Regions from separate parts of the Homo sapiens genome. Here all the other regions are linked to region 1. The links are contacts of gene promoters, found by promoter capture Hi-C in blood cells and fetal thymus (Javierre and others, 2016). All regions are on one chromosome and are shown on one strand. Each heading gives the region's core, a stretch centred on a gene start or on the middle of the fragment in contact. The rest is flanking DNA. Distances are from core to core; before and after follow the strand shown.

Evidence for each region. The method cuts DNA at HindIII sites, captures the fragments that hold promoters and counts their contacts. A CHiCAGO score of 5 or more calls a contact.
Region 2: a fragment that was not itself captured here is called in contact with the fragment with the promoter of DUSP5 in region 1 in 1 of 17 cell types (total B cells); the score reaches 5.6 in total B cells.
Region 3: a contact is called between a fragment that was not itself captured here and the fragment with the promoter of DUSP5 in region 1, in 1 of 17 cell types (M2 macrophages). The highest score is 5.3, in M2 macrophages.

The regions. Positions count from the first base shown.
Region 1 is chr10:110,496,001-110,500,465 of GRCh38, reverse strand. DUSP5 (dual specificity phosphatase 5) reads right to left here and starts at 2,559. Exons shown (of 4, transcript NM_004419.4): 1 at 1,966-2,559. The coding sequence starts at 2,344. DUSP5-DT (DUSP5 divergent transcript) reads left to right here and starts at 3,984. Exons shown (of 2, transcript NR_187547.1): 1 at 3,984-4,078. RefSeq lists silencers at 1,833-2,102, 2,223-2,282, 2,353-2,492, 2,503-3,032 and an enhancer at 3,514-4,037. The HindIII fragment of the contact is 7,811 bases long and covers 1-4,465 here.
Region 2 is chr10:114,525,253-114,529,717 of GRCh38, reverse strand. All of the region lies in intron 6 of ABLIM1 (actin binding LIM protein 1), which reads left to right. Among named protein-coding and RNA genes, the nearest start is that of AFAP1L2, 120 kb to the right of the region's middle. RefSeq lists enhancers at 2,570-2,799, 2,970-3,089. The HindIII fragment of the contact is 263 bases long and covers 2,349-2,611 here.
Region 3 is chr10:106,920,651-106,925,115 of GRCh38, reverse strand. All of the region lies in intron 2 of SORCS1 (sortilin related VPS10 domain containing receptor 1), which reads left to right. Among named protein-coding and RNA genes, the nearest start is that of SORCS1, 240 kb to the left of the region's middle. The HindIII fragment of the contact is 1,712 bases long and covers 1,283-2,994 here.

The DNA of each region.
Region 1 (4,465 bases), core at 1,310-3,809:
GGCAACAATTTAAAGTTTAGTAGTGTTATAAGGGTAGGCATGAAGCAATTTCTACTGAAACTTAAAATGCATGTAATTCTTGACCTGGCAATTCTCATGATTTACTGAAAGGCACTGCACACGCAAGAGCACATGGAGAAGGACATCTACCGCATTGCTTGGAGCAGTGAGGCGGGACGCAACCTAATGGTCATTACAGGAGACCGGTTCAATGTGAAACAGACATGTATGATCAGATATGGACAAGTCTCCAAGATCTAGATAGATACAAGAGGCAGGACAGGGACTATACAAAATCAATCTATTTCTAAGATACTTATGAAAAACTATCTAAAGGTAAACAAAAAATAGTTGACGACTGTCTCTGGGGAGTGGAACTGGGTTCTAAGATATGCAGAAGACCCGCTTCTCATCACAGGGCCTTCATGCTGTTCAAATTTTTACCTGTGTATATGTTACCTTCTTTTAAAAAACATTTTAACCCAGTTTTCCTGAGATGTGAGTCTATAGAGCTGCCTACTTTGTGGCGACAACTTCTAAACTGTCAGCAGGGCCAGCTTAGAGAAGCATGGGGAGGAGAGGTGGGACCAGGGAGGGTCTCCTGGAACCTCTTTCATACTACTGAGGCAGAAACTTCTCCAAACCACAGGAGATAAAAACCATATTAGGAAGAGAAAGAAATCAGGAGGCACGCTGAAACCTCTGCAGAGCCAGAGGGCCAACCCTCTATCCCCTGGGGGATAGGCTGTTAGAAGAAGGACGATTACCATCTACCTCTGTTAACTCTCCAACAGGAAATCAACAGGGGACCAGTCAGCAGGAGGTGCTAGCAGAGAGGGGAACTGTCTCCAGAATCTTCCTGGCCCGGACTGTGTGAAACTCAAGTTGCATGGCTTTAAAACAGGCTCCTAACTCGGCGCCGGCTCTCTGCACCGAGCTCTGATCCCCAACACTGTTACATCCCAAGGTGTCCGCGCCAGGGCTGGCACGGCCTTGGGGCCCTGCTGGGGCTAAACCCTCATCTCTACATGTGGGTCAGGTCTCCCCGGGTGTCATTTGAGGTTACAAAGGACTCAAACACAAAGCAGGAGCAGTCATAGGAAGTAACCCAGAAAAAACCAATGCTTTGGATTTTGAGAGTCAATCACCCACCCACCACCAGAAGCCAAAGTTATCTTCCCGGCAGGTGAAATGGGCAGGCCTGTGGCGGTAGCTCCGGGAGGTGTCAAATCAAAGGCCGCAGAATCTCCATACCACCCTGCCCCCGCGCACCTCTATTTCGTGGCTGGCTGGCTGTAGGCTCAGCTCAGGATGGGTCCCAGGGATAATCCTGGGGCGGAGGAAGGAGGAGGTGAAAAGGGTGGAAAGGATGTGAGCTCCAAACTGAGCTAGAGAAAAGACCTAGGAGGGGAGAAGAGGCCGGAGGGAAACAATAAAAAGCAATAAAATGAAATGGAAAGGGAAGGGACTCGCCAGGTCAAAAAGGCAAGGGGGTCGGTGAAGACCACAGCTGGCTAGGCGGGAGGAAGGGGGGCACCACGGCGCCACACCAAGGGAGAGTGGATCGCGACCTGCTGATCCCGCCAGATCAGTCTATCAGGAAGGCCCCGAGCCCTGACCCCAGCGACAGCGGCGAAGCTCGCGTCTGGAAAGGGGGCTCGTGCCCGGCACGAGCCGACGGCCCCCAAACTGCTAAACAGCAGCAGCCCCCGCAGCATAACCAACTCCACCCAGACCACCGGGCAGACCCGCTGCCGGGCGCTTTCGAGGAACGCGGGTGGGGAAGAGGGGGAGCTCTGAGTGCTGACATTTGCAGTGCCCTCCCAAGCGCACAACAAGCCACAGGGTGCAGACTCCTGCAGGTGGTGACTCTCCCGGTCCCAGGGTGTAGGAGGGCGCCCCGGCGCAGGGAGGGGACCCGGGGGCGCCGGAGGGGCGAGCGTGGCAGGGACCCCGAGCGCTCACCTTTGAGGAAGTAGACCCGCGGGCCGGCGGGTAGGCAAGCGAGTAGCGAGGTGAGGACGACACGCGCGGCGCTCTCCTCTCGCAGCTTCTGCCAGTGGCGGCTGCCCTGGTCCAGCACCACCACGGCCGCGACGCCGCCGCCGCCCTCCTGCAGGAGCCGCGCGCGCGCCGCCTCGTCGGGCAGCACGTAGCGCGCCGACACCGCGCCGCCCCGGGCCCGCCGCAGCACCACCGAGTTGAGGTTGACGTTGAGCGAGCCGCGCACGTTCGAGGCAGCGAAGGCCAGATAGGGCCGGCAGTCGAGCACCACGCAGCGCGCCGCCGCCTCCTTGCGGAGCATCTTGCGCAGCTGGCGCCCGTCGAGCGACGTGACCTTCATGCCGCCGCCGCCGCCGGCCAGCGGCCCCGCGCCGCGCGCCCCGCGGGTGCCCACGGCCAGGGTGTCCACGGCCAGGGTGTCCGCGGGCGAGGCACGGGAGGGCGACCCGCGGGGCTGCGGCCGCGACGGAGCCCGGCGCCCGAGCGGCGGCGCAACTCCGCGTTCCCGCCCCGCTCGCTCGATAGCCAGCCCGGCCGCTCGCCGCCCTAGAAGCCGGGGATTCCGCCGGCCGCGCAGCGTTTTATGTGAATGAGTGCCGTCCGTGACGCGGCTGCCCATATAAGGCCAAATATGGGTGTTTCCCCGCCCCTCGGGCCGTGGCCACGCCCTGCAGGGGGCGGGGCAGCGGGGGCGAGGGACGCGCGGGGCGGGTGCCGGCGTTAGAGCGAGAGGAAGTGGAAGGCGCCTCTTCGTTCTCTCTTCCGCGCTTCGCTGAGGGACTCACTCGCGCATCACCCGCGGCTGCCGGTCGAGTGTCCCAGGCGCTCCGGGGCCGCGGTGACCCTCGCGGTGCGGACCGAGGAGGAAGCGCCGTGGGGGGCGGGGCGGCGCCGCACGATCCGGCCTTCAGCTTCACGGACGTGGGCTGAGAACCCGCCCGCGCCGCGCTGAGCAGGGCCGAGGGAGCCGGCCAGGGCCCCAGAGGAGTCCGGAACGGATTCCCGTCGCTACCGAGGTCTGCGCGTGTAAGGAGAGGACGTCGGAGATTTGCCTCGAGGGGTGGGGTATAGATGACTGGAGAGGTCAGGCGCGGGTTGGTCATCGCTGAGGCTGGGTGATGGGTGGCCGGATTCGTTATACTGTTTTCTCCACTTTTCTGTATGTTTGATATTTTTCATAATAAAGTTTGTAAAAGTAAAAACGGGGGTTGGGGGTCGGCGGTGAGAATAGCCATTTAATCTTCCTAAATGGATTCTGCCCTCAAAGGATTGACGCTCTTTTCTCTGTCACTCTCCAATAATGATTAGAATAATAAGTTGTATTTTGAGGAGCTGTTTTCTGGTCCCGGGGAGACCCTTGGTGAACTCAGCAGTACCATCAGCATGTATCCCACGATGGAGCTCAGTTCAGCCAACTGTTGTCCAGGTGGCTTCTGGATTTGGGGGATTATCTATGGATCAAGTTTAATCTCAGGCTGTCTGCCCCCACCGGTCCCCAGGGGCTTCAGGCCTCCCACCCCTATTCCTGGGGAAGCAGACACAATTCACCCATTCAGCAAGCATTTATTGAGGGTCAGCCGTGTGCCAGGGCTTTGCTAGCTGCGGGGACACATGGATGGAAACAGGTTTCTGCCCCCAAGCTCACTGCCAACCATTTTATTGTTAGCCTGGCTGGGACTGCTTGATGGAAAACAGTCTGCCCGCACTAGACAAGGGCTTGTTGACAACTGACATAAGGGAATGAGGTTTTCAGAAGGAAGCAGAGATCAAATTTTGAAATCAGATGCAATCAAATCAGACACCAGGACAGCCAGCATTGCCTCTGGGTCACAGATGCATCCACCCAAAGGCGCTGTCCTCGCCTTGCCAGTGGGGTCTTGGTGAAGACGTGATGCGGGGGCCTTCTTTCTTTTTGTGGTTATCTGTGCCAGCCTTCCCTGCAGGCTGCTCTTCCTCTAGCACGTTCTGTTTCTGTTACCGGCTCTTTCCACCCCCGGCATCTCCGCCTAGAGCCACACACATACGCGGAGCACCCACGTGGGCCAGGCTTTGTTTTGGGGCTGGCGGCACCAACGTGAGTAAGACTTATACTCAGCCCCAGCTGCCCCCAGCCCAGAGGGAAGGGGAAGGCCTGTAGTCCGTGGGGAAGAGCGCCCAGTAGGGGTGTGGCAGGGTGGGGCGTGGGCTGGAGAAGGCCTCCCGAGGAGAGGAGAGCTGAGGCCAACTCCGAGGAATGAATTGTAAGCCAGGCTGCGAAGCAGGAGGGGAGATTCCAGGCAGAGGAAACTGCTTGGGGTAAAGAAAACAAAAAACGCAACCCCCCCAGCATGGTGCGTACTGGAGGTATGTGGGAGACTAAGGCCCTTCTGGTATTTATTAGCAGATTAAGCAGGGTCAGGCAACAGAGGGCCTTGTGCTGTTTTGAGTCATTTGGGTCTTAGTCTTTGGCCGGGCAGTCCCC
Region 2 (4,465 bases), core at 1,231-3,730, 4.0 Mb before region 1:
TCTTTCCCCAAATCGTGTGCATGCATGTGCACAGGAGGCATGCCAATGGGAAAGGTGGCTCAGGTTGCTCACCAAGGGCTGCCCAACTAGGGAGGTGACTTGAACCTCTTGACTCCACACGGCGTTCTTCACTCTTTTCATCTGGAAACTCACGAATTTGGAAATTTGCTCAGTAAATCTGAAGATGACCCATCCTCTTTGACCCCATCCCAGAAGACATAGAGATGCTTAAATAAATAAAATCCAAAAAGAGAAACTGATCATCCAAATATAGGAGAGTAGAAAGAGGATGAAGAGGCCGGGCGCAGTGGCTCACACCTGTAATCCCGGCACTTTGGGAGGTTGAGGCAGGCGATCATGAGTTCAAGAGATCGAGACCATCCTGGCCACCACGGTGAAACCCCATCTCTACTAAAAATACAGAAATTAGCTGGGCATGGTGGCATGTGCCTGTAGTCCCAGCTACTTGGGAGGCTGAGGCAGGAGAATCGCTTGAACCCGGGAGGCAGAGGTTGCAGTGAGCCAGTATCGCACCACTGCACTCCAGCCTTGCGACAGAATGAGACTCTGTCTCAAAAAAAAAAAAAAAAAGAGGATGAAGACTCGTGGGTAGTGAGCCTAATTCTGACGCTCAAGTTACTTCTTGCCATGTGACTAGAAGCCTGGGTAAGTGTCCCATTTTACCTTTGTAAAGGGGGACACCTTCACTCCTCTGACAGACATTGCATGCTAATATCTTAAACATGAGGTGAGGTGCAGGGGTTACAGAGGTAAAAGGTACCATCCTTAACCCCAAATGGTCTTACCATCTAAGGCTGAGGTTCTAAAACCACTATGCCTAACAATCACCTGCATATCTTGTTTGAAGTGTGGATTCCCAGCACAACATGGTGCCTATCATTAACAATACTGTATTGTGCACTTAAAAATTGAAGACAGTACATCTCATGTTGTGTTCTTACCACAATAAAAATGAAGTTATTCATGCTTTTAAAAAATAATGAAGTATGGATTCTCAGGCCTCACCCCAGACATTCTGATTCAGGAGGCCTGGGAATCTGCATGTGAACATGCAGCCCTGCCCTGGGTGATTCTGGTACAGGGAAGTCCACAGATGCCACTTTGAGGATCTGGCCCTATAAGGGTGTGGTGAGGACACATTGATGGAGGTTTCTGACTCCTCAGAAGAAAAATGCACTAGAAATTTAGTGAGACCCCTGTCATTATTATGATGTATAAGCCAATAGTCTCCTCTTCATTTTAGAAGCACGGCTTTGTTGCTAAAACCTTACATTTTCTCAGCACTGCTTGGGACTTCTTCCAAACCAGCTTAGAGAGATTCCACATGTCTATATAAAAGGGTCTTTTCATTTCCTGATCTTTGTGGGCAAATAATCTCCCTAAAAAATTTCGTAAATCATCCTAGTCTTCTTAAAAATGACAAACGTGGCAGGGCAGGGTGGCTCACACCTATAATTGCAGCACTTTGGGAGGCTGAGGCAGGAGGATCACTTGAGGTGAGGAATTCAAGACCAGCCTGGGCAACATAGTGAGATCCTGTCTCCACAAAAAATTTAAAAATTGCCGGGCGCAGTGGCTCACGCCTGTAATCCCAGCACTTTGGGAGGCTGAGGCGGGCGGATCACAAGGTCAAGAGATCGAGACCATCCTGGCCAATGTGGTGAAACCCCATCTCTACTAAAAATACAAAAATTAGCTGGGTGTGGTGGTGCATACCTGTAGTCCCAGCTACTCAGGAGGCTGAGGCAGGAGAATTGCTTGAAACTGGGAGGCGGAGGTTACAGTGAGCCAAGATCACGCCACTGCACTCTAGCGTGGGCAACAGAGCGAGACTCCGTCTCAAAAAAAAAAAAAAACTTTAAAAATTAGCCAGGCATGGTGGCTCACACCTGTAATCCCAGCTACTCAGGAGGCTGAGGTGGGACAATCGCTTGGACCCAGGAGTTGGAGGTTGCAGTGAGCTGATTGCGCTATGATCGTGCCACTGCACTCTAGCATGGGTGACAGAGATCCCATCTCAAAAAAAAAAAAAAAAAAGACAAGAGTTGTTACAGAAATCTTTCCATCATCCTAAGAAAGAGTACATTAAAAGGGCTGTGCCATCACTGGAGAAACTTCCAGTTCCTCCTCTCTGTTCACATGCATAGAGAGCCTGCAGCTTCCCCTCAGTCACTGGCTCACCTGAGATTTCTGCAGGGATGGTTTCGTTGAAAATGAGGCTGTGTGTATAAAATGCCTGCAACATAGCCAGTAGCTAGCCAGTAATTTTCTGCTACAATTAAAAACACACAATACAAAATGTACCAAAAATATGAATCAAGAAAGCTTGATAAGAGGTTTTCCAATCATATTTGTCTCAGACAGTACTGCAGAATAATATGGAAATTCTGAAGTAACAAAAGGGAATAAAAAGTTGAACTCAGTTTTGTTATACTTTTGCATAAGGGGTTCCTTACATGTACCTCAAAAGCAGGGACTTGCGAGGAGGCTGCAGGCTGTGTGATGGCTGTGCTCAGCTAGGCACCTTTCCATCATCTCAAATCCGAGAAAGAAACTCAAAAAGCCTAAGAATCTCGTTTCAGTACAAGCTTATGCCTCAGGGACAATCACTGTCGGTTTCACATGCAGACAATAGTGAGTGAATGCAAAGAAATGGTACTTTCCTACCTGCATTTAAAAAAAGAAAGAAAGTAAATCTACTCCCCCTCCTTTTTTGGGAACATGGACTGGCCCATTGTGGTTGCTGGTGTGTTGAACTAGTAAGTAAAGCGAGGAGAGGAGGCGTGAGAGAGCGTGCCTGCCCGCCGCACACGGGGCTGGTTTCCGGAGTGCGTCTCTAGAGGGATGCACGTTGCCTTAGCCGAGCTTCGGAGAGAAGCCTGATATGTAACCCAGGCAGGTGGGAGCCTCAGTCTGTCGGGCTGAGGTCTGGCATCTACAAAGCCTCTTGGCCGTGTTCTGAACTTGAAGCCTGGAGGAGTTCTCTGCTCAGCACAGCCAAGGAACAGAATTAGAAGAAAAGGAACCCTGGCCTGAGGTAAAGCGGACATTGCACAAGGTGACCTATGTCCTTTGCTTTGCGTGGCAGATGTGAGATTTCTGGCTTCCTTCGTGAGGTCGGAGGCCGCTCGGATCCTCCAAATGTGGTGGCTGGATGCTGGCGACAGAAGTCACTTTTATTGCCCTGACATACATTTATGTAAACTTTTTGTTTTCCTGATGATACAAAAGAAACGACAGGAGCTTTTGTTCATCGATACAGAACTAGACTGAAGGGCAGGAAAGGCTGGTTATTTATTTCACTGAGAAGTGTAGTGCGTTGACCTTTTAAACAAGGCTTATGTTTTTTTAGGCTGCTACCCGCAAGATTGAAAGGAGACTGTGGTTTTCAGACTTTGGGGTTGTTTTGTTTTGTCTGTGGTTTGTAGAGCTCTGTGAAATTTACATTTGAGTCCTGTTTGGGGGATTTGGTGGTGGAAGTGGCACGTGGGAATGAGTAGATTTAGCTATTACTGTAAATTATGAGATTTTTTTTTCTTTAAGAAATACCCAATAAATGAAAATAAGGAAACAAAATGTTTAGATGTTATTCATGTTTTATTGCGGCTCTAGGTTGAAAGAGCTTGACAATTGCCTCTCTTTCCACCTTTGATATGCAGTAAAAGAAATCTAGAGATTCTGGCCTTTATATTGAAAATAGTTTTCCTAAAAACCCAGTTATTAATCGAATCATACTGTAAAGACTTTTTTTGGGGGGAAAGTGTTTTAAAATGTGCTATACTAGCATGAAAGAAGAAATGGGACCAGAAAGTTATTTCATCTGTGAAAAAAATAGATTTATGATGTTGGAAAAGAAAAAAAGAAAACGTGAGTTTGGCCATAAGCCAGCAGGAGTGTGGTCGCTATAGCAGCTTCATTTGTCACTTAGCTGAGATTGGAGACTTAAAAGAAAACTGAGCCTGTTTTTCTCTCAGACAGCCTCATAAGGAATGTTAAGAGGATGTGAAGTTATTTAGATTACCAAAACAGGTTCTGACAAGTAAGTGAAAATAACTCATTAAAATATAATTGTTGCCATTCTATAAATGGATCAAAAGGCTTGTTGAGTCACTGCGTACTTATAGAATAGGTGAATTTGCCACGGCTCATTGGTATAAATTACTTTTGAGAAGGCTTTTTAAGACTAAGCGTGAGGCCTTGCCAAGCATCCCTTATAACACTTAGAATGTTTTGACCAATGTTTTCGAGGCGGTTGCCTAAGCATTTTCATGTGTCAGTGAGTCTAATCCTCGCATCAGTGGCTTATCCAGTAAGCTCAGGGAATATTATATCCTGACAACAGAAGCCTGCAGATTTTTCTCTTCAACTAAACAATAGCTCACCTAAAAGGACAGAAAGTGAACTACTCAGTTCTTGTAACCTGACTTTCTGGAGGGATGGTCAT
Region 3 (4,465 bases), core at 889-3,388, 3.6 Mb after region 1:
ATATTTTAATTTGCAAATACTCAATCATTACAAAATGATTTTTAAGTACATAAGATATGATATATAATATAGCATATAAAAGTACTATTTTTAAAATAATTTTTGAAGTAAATATGGTTTAGAAAGTATGTGTTTCTTTAATGTAAATATATCTTGTGAGTGAGGAAAAGAATTGTCAGTTTGCATAGATCAGAACATCTGAAGTTTGTTGAAAACAGAATGAAAACATATAAACCTGAGATACTTATGAAAGTTACACAAGGAATACATCTTGCTTGTCCATTCTTGTCAAGATGAAAAGCATTAATTCACACTGCAATCAGGTTGCCTTAACATAAAAAAAAAAAAAAATCCATGCAGTTAAATGTAAAAATTGAAAAAAAAAAAGACTTGGGAATCCCTGTTCATCTGTTTCTCAGGGCTGTCACTAGCAGCAGCACCAACATCTGTAAAAATAGAAAGTGAGGATGGTGGACAATTATTTTTGACAAAGTCCTTCCATACCACCTATCCTCTTGTTCTTACGCTTCCTTTCTTTTCAATTTCCTCTTTTGCCTTTTGCCTCCATATGTTTTGGAGTAGCTCCTGCCCAATGCAAATTAGATAGATAGATAGATAGATAGATAGATAGATAGATAGATAGATAGATCGATAACTGTGGAATTTTCATAATATTAAAAATTATCAAAATTTTATTTGCATGTTTTAATTTTGCTTTGCTTTATTTTTACCATATCATTTATCTAATACAATAAAATGTTCCTTTCAATCACTGAGCAGTTCCTCAGACACTATCATTATCATGCATTTCTCACTAAAGCAAATTGTTTTTAATTAAAAGGTAGTTTTTTTTTTTTTTTTGAGATGGAGTTTTGCTCTTATTGTCCAGGCTGGAATACAGTGGCACGATTTCGGCTCACTGCAACCTCCACCTCCCGGGTTCAAGCGATTATCCTGTCTCAGCCTCTCAAGTAGCTGGGATTACAGGCATGTGCCTCCACGCCCGACTAATTTTATATTTTTAGTAGAGATGGGGTTTCTCCATGTTGGTCAGGCTGGTCTCGAACTCCCGACCTCAGATGATCTGCCCTTGGCCTCCCAAAGTGCTGGAATTACAGGCATGAGCCACTGCGCCCAGCCAGATTATTATTTTAAAGCCATTTATCAAAAGAATGAGAAGACAGTCCACAGATTGGGGAAAATATTTGCAAAAGACCTATCTGATAGAGAACTGTTATCCACACTATACAAGCACTATTACAACTCAATAATAAAAAAAGCTTTCTTTAAAAAATCAAACACAAACAAACATGCAAGCAAACAAAAACGGGCAAAAGATCTGAACAGATAACTGGCCGAAGAAGATATGCAGATGACAAATAAACATGGGGAAAGATGTTCAACACCATGTAAGAGAATTGCAAATGAAAACAATGATAGCCACTAACACTTATTAGGATGGCTAAAATCCAAGACACTGACACCACCAAATGCTGGTGAGGCCGTGGAGCAACAGCAACTCTCATTCTCATTACTGGTGGAAATGCAGAGTGGTTCAGCCACATTGGAAAACAGTTTCGCAGTTTCTTATAAAACTAAACATAATCTTACTGTAAGATCCAACAATCAAGCTGCCTTTACCCAACTGAATTGATGAAAACTTATATATTCACACAAAGTTCATTCAAAACCTGAATTCATCTAAGATGTCCTTTGGTAAGTGGATGGATTTTGGTACATCCATACAATGGAATATTATTCAGCTAAAAAGAAATGAGCTATTAAGCCATAAAAAGACATAGAGGAAAATTAAATGCTTATTACTAAGCAAAAGAGCCAATCTGAAAGGGCTGCATTATCTATGACTCCAAATACATGACATTCTGGAAAAGATAAAACTACGGAGACGGTAAGAAAGTCCATGGTTGGCCGGACCTGGTGGCTCACGCCTGTAATCCCAGCACTTTGGGATGCTGAGGCGGGCGGATCACGAGGTCAAGAGATCGAGACCATCCTGGCCAACATCGTGAAACCCCGTCTCTACTAAAAGTACAAAAATTAGCTGGGTGTGGTGGCGTGTGCGCCTATAGTCCCAGCTACTCGGGGGGCTGAAGCAGGGAAATTGCTTGAACCCGGGAGGTGGAGGTTCCAGTGAGCTGAGATTGCGCCACCACACTCCAGCCTGGGGACAGAGCGAGACTCCATGTCAAAAAAAAAAAAAAAAGAAAAGGCTGCATGGTTGTCATGGGTTGCAGGAAGGGAGGGATGAATAGATCAAACACAGAGGACTTCCAGGGTAGCGAAACTATTCTATATGATACTAAAATGGTGGACACATTGTTATTATACATTAGTCCAGACTTGTAGAATATATAAGTCTAGGATGAACCCTAACGTAAACTGCGGATTTGGGCGATAATAATAGGTCAGTGTTGGTTCATCAGTTGCAACAAGTGTACCACTCTAGGGTAGATGTTGATAGCAGGGGAGGCTGTGTGTGTACAAGGGAGGGGGACAGGAGTCATATGGGAACTCTCTGTACTTTCACTTAAATTTGCTGTGAACCTAAAGCTACCCTTAAAAGAAGCCTAATAAAAAAAATCCCCAAAATGTCTTTGACTGGTTTCGTTATTTGATGGTATCAAAGTTTTGACTTTATTATCAACGGGCTTTTGTTTTTTCTTTGTCTATTTGTGTTGTTTGTTTATTGTTGGAAGCCCTTCAGGGGATGACAGAAGATCTATCCAGGTGCCAGAGTCTGCTGTAGTCTTCATGTTGAGAAGTCAGCTGCTCTTATCTCCCACATCCCTAGCAAGGCAACCCTGTCATTTCTTACTCTGTTGAGGTTCTATGTTAGTGCTCAGTGGTAGTTGTGTGTTTAGCGTATGTCACCTGGAACCCGCCTCTGAAATTCATAACTTTGTCCTTGGCTCAAAATTAAAGTGCTGAAAGAAACTTATCCCTTTCATTCTTTCCTAAGCTCTAATGTAAGCTTTGTTCACCACCTGAGGAGACCTGTCTGCTCAATAAGACTGTCCATTTACAAGTGGCATTTTCAGATTTTTGACCTTTCTTATATTTCTTAATGTTTTTCTACTTCTGGGACTTCAGAAGTTCAGCAGATCAGAGGGGATTTCTCAACTTGGTATGAGATGCAGCACGATGGAAAGCAATTTCTTAGATTTCCCTTATGGGAATAAGGTGCGTGAATTATATGAGGTCAGACCCTAGAGAGGGCTTTTCTGGAAATGCAGGCAACATAGCAAAGAAATAAGCATTGTTCAGATTGAATTTGTAATAGTTGGAGGATAGGTGTCAGCTTGCTTACCTGGTTTTGCCTTTTGGGGCACTGGACCCTTAGCATTAATACCGACAGAGTTTATAGTTTCCTATTGTTTTTATTGAGTCCTTATAGTTTCTATAGGGGTAGCAATGCAGTGGATGTCATGGTTCCAAGGCATGTGTGAGATAGACTTTCTCCTTCCTCCCGACTCCCTGTGTCCCTTGCACTGAGTTATTAAGCAGATGATTCTTTTTAATAACATTTGTTATTAAATGATTATATAATGATTCTGTTTAATACGATTTGCGCTCTTCAATCAAATAGAGGAGTCAGATAAAGAATATTGAAATGGAATTAAGAGAGGAGAAAGTGAGAGAACATTGTAAGTCTGATATATCTAGATGAAATTATGCTCTGAAGTCCATTTTCCCTATGTCAGGAATTTGGTTCCTGTTGCATCAGTGGAGCCTGATAAGGACCAGGGAAGCAGAGGCATTCTGTAGGTCTTGTATGTAAGGAGCTGAGTGAAGAGAACTTGAGAAAAAGGCATCAGAGTTCTGGGCTATTTTCTTTCCCCATCACATAGGGGTAGGAGGAGTCTTCCCCTCACTTTGAGCCCCATGAATGTATGGGCTTCAAGAGAGCTTTACCTGTATCTCTCCAAATTTGGGGCTTTAAAAACTGGAACATAACACTTGACTGAGATAATCAAAATGGTTTGTAGATTGAGATCTGATGCCTGCCTGGGAAATGAAGAGGGAGAGGCAAGAGCTGACCACCTGCAAGACGATGAGCTAGAGATGTTCTTGCCGTGGTGCCTTGGAGCTGGAAAAATGGGAGTGTTTTCCCAGGAGCATGCCATGGAGACTGTTGCTGGGGTCCTCTCAGGTCTCGTTCAACAGACTTCTCTGGAGGGACAAGCAGGCCTCATGGTGAAGAGGGCTAGAGTTGAGCTGCCAGGTGACAAGCAGTTGAGAAGGGTGACTCCACCCACTATTTGGACTGGAGATGCACCCATCCAGGTCATAAGACCACAAGGCAGAGATCCAGCAAGAGATTCTAAAGAGCGCACCCAAGAAAAAGAGTCACTTTCACCATCTGCCAGGCCCAGAGTGCTGGAAACCTCCCAGCCACAAAAGAACAGCCCTCACTTCCTACACGCTTTTCTCTCTTGCTTTCCTG